Linked DNA regions of Homo sapiens: region 1 is linked to region 2. Evidence: promoter capture Hi-C in human tissues and cell types (Jung and others, 2019). All regions are on one chromosome and are shown on one strand. Each heading gives the region's core, a stretch centred on a gene start or on the middle of the fragment in contact. The rest is flanking DNA. Distances are from core to core; before and after follow the strand shown.

The links. The method cuts DNA at HindIII sites, captures the fragments that hold promoters and counts their contacts. A contact is called where the count stands out against the background at its distance.
Region 1: a contact is called between the fragment with the promoter of EZH1 here and the fragment with the promoter of RPL27 in region 2, in 1 of the 25 tissues and cell types used here (hippocampus).

Annotation. Positions count from the first base shown.
Region 1 is chr17:42,743,688-42,746,387 of GRCh38, forward strand. EZH1 (enhancer of zeste 1 polycomb repressive complex 2 subunit) reads right to left here and starts at 1,353. Exons shown (of 21, transcript NM_001991.5): 1 at 1,324-1,353. RefSeq lists a silencer at 931-1,510. The HindIII fragment of the contact is 12,026 bases long and covers 1-2,700 here.
Region 2 is chr17:42,996,972-42,999,671 of GRCh38, forward strand. It overlaps RPL27 (ribosomal protein L27), which reads left to right and starts at 1,448. Exons shown (of 5, transcript NM_000988.5): 1 at 1,448-1,500; 2 at 1,778-1,860. The coding sequence starts at 1,780. It overlaps LOC124904006 (a long non-coding RNA gene), which reads right to left. Exons shown (of 2, transcript XR_007065759.1): 2 at 1-2,415. RefSeq lists enhancers at 1,005-2,204, 1,170-1,479, 1,490-1,729, 1,800-1,909. The HindIII fragment of the contact is 14,123 bases long and covers 1-2,700 here.

The sequences.
Region 1 (2,700 bases), core at 103-2,602, 250 kb before region 2:
ACTCCTGGGCTCAAGCTATTCTCCTGCCTGGGCCTCCCGAATGCTGGGATTTCAGATATGAGCCACCGAGCCCAGTCTAAAGTACTTATCTCCTAACACACACTCTCTCCTATGTAAGTAATCTCTTTTATCAGTGGCATATCTGGGGATTCCAAGACTTAAAATAGACAAGCTTTCACAGAAACCTCTAATAGGGTTAGCACCTTCTCAGGCTGGAAACCTCCTTCAATATCAGTTTCCTAAATTTAAAAAACATGGGGTGTGGGAATTTTTTTATTCAGCGGCAGTATGGCAGCAAACGTGGAGGAGACTCGCGTTTTCATTGCCATCCTTGCACCCACCTAATTGTTAGTGTACCTGAGCTCCTTTGCTTTCATCCTCCCCTGCCAAGCGTCAGGTTCCTATCGGCCTGGGCTACATCACATACAACCCTGTATTTCACCCTCCATATTCCTTCACATTCCACGGGGGGCACTAACATCCTTCAGGTATCCCTTCCCTTCCCTGCTCAAGAAACAATTCCTCAGTAGTCACTTTTTATTGAAATAAAAGTTTGTCCCACATTTCCTAACAGGCATGTCCCAAATACAACACCTTGTCTGTGCTTCAAGGCACTTTTATTTATATCATTTGATCCTCGGTTGAATGGTGGGGGTGAGCGATCATTGGCGTGAGACCAAAAGTCTGGAGTGAAGGAGATTCTTGCTCAGGGCCAGGCCTGGGGTGAGGCGACCGAGGCACCCAGGACGCACGTGAGGAGGCGCTCACTGCACTTGCGCGACCCTGAGTCAGTGCTCCTTTACACTTTGTGCCTTGGGAGCCTTACTCACCTCACCCTAGTCCCGGCCTTGTTTTTACTGCTACCCCTCCTCAACATCCCCGAAAGCCATCGCAAGATCAGCCCCGGTCTCTAGCCCTCCCCAAGCACAGCTCCAGGTCCCCAGAGTCCACCTCGCTAAAGGCCCCCGCAGGTGCCACCGCCCTCCCGCGCCCTTTGGGCGCTGGGGCTCCCGCCCACCGGCCCACACCGCCATCCAACGGGATTCCCCGTCCCCGAGCCCGCCCCCGCCGCTCCTCCTCCCGGGCACACAGCCCTCGCAGCCCCAGACGCTGTCCTCGCCTGGGTCTCTCTCGCCCCGTCGCCCCCATTCCCCCACCCTCGGAATGAGGAGGGGCGCCTGCTACCCCCGGCCAGGCAGGCAGTGTGTCCCTCGGATTCCTTCCAATTTCCTGATCCCTCCGCCTCTCCCTCCCTCAGGCCCAGGGCGGCGAGGGGAGGAGGCCCGGCCCCACCGCCCGGCCCAGGCTTGTTTACTCACTCACCCTCCATCCCGAGCCGCGGGTCCCGCTGCTAGGACGCATGCGCGCCGCGGCCCCACCCCTGCGCCGTGCCCCGCCCCGCGCCTCCTGTCGGCGCGTGCGCATTGACTTACCCGTGCCGCGCGGACGCACTACTGTCATTTGCCGCCAAAACCCCGCACTCAGGAGTCCTGGCGGGTGCAGCCTCCCAGACGGCTTCCAAAGCGGCGCTGGCAGGGGAGGGGAAGGGCTCTGGGGAAACCTTCGCAGAGCCACTAATATCTTCCTGAAGACCCTATTCAGCGGATTTGCCATCCCCACGCGCTGGTGACAAGCCACATCTCACTTCAGCGTTTGAAGCCAACCCAGATCACCTTCATACCGATGCTTCACCCCTACCAGTTCTCCAGACACCGGTCTATGGGTTCTAAGCCCTTTATTTATGTCTGATCTCCCTATTTCTGTTCATAGTTTTCTAGTCACTTAGAATCAAAATTATAGCCTTGTATCGAAATAAATCCCCACAAGACACCTGCTAGTTACAAAGGGAAAAAAATAGCAACTTTACAGATAAGAATCTGTCAGACACCACCTTAACTAAGTGATCAAAGTTAGCATCACTAGTGATAAGAGGTATTGTTTTCTTCTTCTTTTTTTGCCGGGGGGCGAGGCTGGACGGAGTCTCGCTTTGTTACTTACACAGGCTGGAGTGCCGTGGCGCGATCTCGGCTCACTGCAACCTCTCCCTCCCGGGCTCAAGCAATTCTCCCGCCTCAGCCTCCCAAGTAGCCAGGAATACAGGTTCGTGCCACCACGCCCGGCTAATTTTTGTATTTTTAGTAGAGATGGGGTTTCACCGTATTGGCCAGGCTGCTGTCAAACTCCTGACCTCAAGTGATCTGCCTACCTCGGCCTCCCAAAGTGCTGAGATTACCGGCATGAGCCACCACGCCCGGCCTCCCTCTTCTTTTTAAGGAGACAGGGTCTTGCTGTGTTGCCTAGGCTGGTCTTGAACTCCAGGGTTCAAGCCATCCTCCCACCTTGATTTCCCAAAGTGTTGGGATTACAGGCATGAGCCATTGCCCCCAGCTGAGAGGTATTCTTACCAGGTCCCTCTGAACATGATGCAATGAGAAGCGCACAAAATCACTTCTGTGGTATTCTTGACGAACACGCATAAGCTGATTTTTTGTGCGTGTTGTTTGTTTGTTTGTTTTGAGACAGTTTCACTCTTGTTGCCTAGGCTGGAGTGCAATGGTGCAATCTCGGCTCACTGCAATCTCTGCCTCCTGGGTTCAAGCGATTCTCCTGCCTCAGCCTCCCAAGTAGCTGGGTTTACAGGCATGCACTACTATACCCGGCAAATTTTGTAATTTTAGTAGAGATGGGGTTTCACCATGT
Region 2 (2,700 bases), core at 198-2,697:
GTTTTTTTCTTCAAATTACACGGGCATGGTGGCACATACCTGAAGTCCTAGCTACTCAGGAGGCTGAGGTGGGGGGATCACGAGCCCAGGAGGTTGAGGCTACAGTGAGCCATGATTGTGCTACACACCATTCAGCCTGGGTGACAGAGCGAGACCCTGTCTCAAAAAACAAAACAAAAGCCATTGCAATGGGATCCTGAGGGATACAGGGAAAATTGTATCACTGGAGAGCTTCAGGAGAGAACTGATGAAATCCTGGTTGTTCCACATCTTGCCCAAGACAAATCCTATAGGTTCAGATAAGCAAAAACTGTGAGATAGTTTATCTTTCCCTTAAACTCGGAAAGCACATAAGGTACCATGTGAAAACACTCTTCTGGTGAGTGATGGGAAATAATTCAGTTTGAGAGCCAACTAGACCTAGATTCAGACCTAGATTTGAATCCCATCTATGCCACTGATTAGGATTAACCTCAGACAAGCAATTTATCCTCTCTGAATTGCAATTTCCTCATGTCTAAATGGGAGGAGAATGCCCAAGATGCAGAGTTGTGAGGATTAAACAGGCTGCCGGCTTGTATAAAGTGCTCACATCTTGCCTGGGAGAGAATCGCTGCTCAGGATGGTGACATGGTAAACAGTATGGGTTCAGGAGTTGAACTGCTTGAGGCTGAGCCCCAGCTCCACTATTTAACCACTATAGACTTCGGGCAAATCTCTCTAAGCCAGTTTCCTCGACTCTAGAATGGAGATAATAGTATCTATTTCTTAGTGTTATGATGACCAAATCAGATGATGTGCATAAATAGATTAACCTGACCTGGCACAGGGTAAGCAGCTGCCATTCTTCTCCTCTACCTCCCTCATGCTTATTCTAGTTGGTAATGTCAGTGACACCACTAGACTTTAACTGTTGGGGGTAAATATCCTTTTTGTTTGTTTTTTTAAAACCAAATTTAGCAGTGGGGGGTTGTATACCAACTTTAGTGACCCTAACGTTGATAAGTTCTGATAACCCACTACTATCGGACCAGCCACCCTTACTGATCTTTGTCCCTCCCTCTTTAGCTAACAGTGCCCCCGACAGGCACCAATAAATGCCCTATTTTTTTCCCTGTGTCTCCCAAGAGAAAAAGTAAATTTCAGATTGTGTTCCCCCTCCTAGCGCCAGAGAAAGGAACTACAACAAAGCCTAGCTGCTGAGTCCAGAGCGCACAGCACAGTCGCCCTCCCAGCTCTTCCGTCGGCCGGGAGGAGTCTCCTTTGCTCTTGTCTACTGCTGGAGCTGCTAATAAAGTTTCATTCGAATACTTGAGCTGCCGCGCCCTGCGTTTCCCTCATGAGCTTCTTCCGCCCGCAACACGAGACTCAGCACCACACAATCAGCGTGGCAAAGCCTGAAGGGCGGGACAGGAAGTGAGGTCACTCCTCACCGGGGTGAAAGGTTAGCGGAAGTGTCCTTCTTTCCTTTTTGCTGGTAGGGCCGGGTGGTTGCTGCCGGTAAGTAGAAGCTTGGGTTGAATCTTTCAATCCGCTGCCATCCGCGGCTTGGGGGTCGAAGGTCCGGGCGGCGCCGGGTGCATTCCTTCCCTAGGTCTCTGGCGGCTACGTATCCGATCCTGTCCTGCGAGCAGGGCCCTCGGGCGGCCTTGACCAAGGCGACAGTGAACACAGTCTGAAGTTCCGGCCCAAGACCTGGGCTTGCTGGCAGGAGTCAGCTCTGGGCATCTTTGGCTTTACGGATTTTTAAGTGGCCCTTTCTCCTTGCTCTCTGCAGAAATGGGCAAGTTCATGAAACCTGGGAAGGTGGTGCTTGTCCTGGCTGGACGCTACTCCGGACGCAAAGCTGTCATCGTGAAGGTATCAGCCTCGCGGGACTCTGCGTCCTTGCATGCCGGGACCAGGCTGGCTGCGGCGGGGCGGGCAGGCTTGGAATTCAAGGCCTGTTTCTGGGGCAGTAGCCAGTGAGCACGGTCAGGGTGAACGTGGGAGAGTTTTTGAGAGAGGAAGAAGCACAGTAAAAGCAAATGTGAGCTGAATTGGGCTCCCAACGCATAAAGCCTTCTCCACCAGAGGCTTTAAATATATAGTAATAGTGGCTGACATTGCACGCTTGCTATGTGCTCCCACTGCCTTTCAGGTATTGTCATGTGCAGTCCTTGAAGTAATCATAGGGGATTCCTTTTCTTTTCTTTTCTTTTTTTTTTTTTTGAGACGGGATCTCTGTCCAGGCTAAGTGCAGTGGCGTGATCACTGCAGCCTCGACCTCCCGGGCTCAAGCGAGTCTCCCATCTCAGCCTCTCGAGTGGCTGGGACTACAGGTGCGTGCCACCATCCCCAGCTATAGGGGGTTCCTTCCTGTTGCTAAGGTTTGGAGGTGTTCTGTTATTTACCTGAAGTGCTGCAGCTGGGAATCTGTAAGAAGAGGAGGAAATTGCTTTTAGAAAGGTCACATAGCCCCTCACTGTTTTCCTCTTATCCATGATTTTGTAGCTTCTTGAGAGAGTTCCCTAGGCTCTGGCCACATACACCACTGCGTTTTGTTGTTGTGGGGACACTGGAGTACCCCTGGATTCCCCTCTCCCATCTCCTGAGACTGATCTCTGGAGTTAGGCTGTGGTGTCTTAACCTTGGCTGTACACTTCACTAGCAGTGGAGCAAGTGAATAGATACCAAGTCCTGTGAGCAGTGCTTGGCATA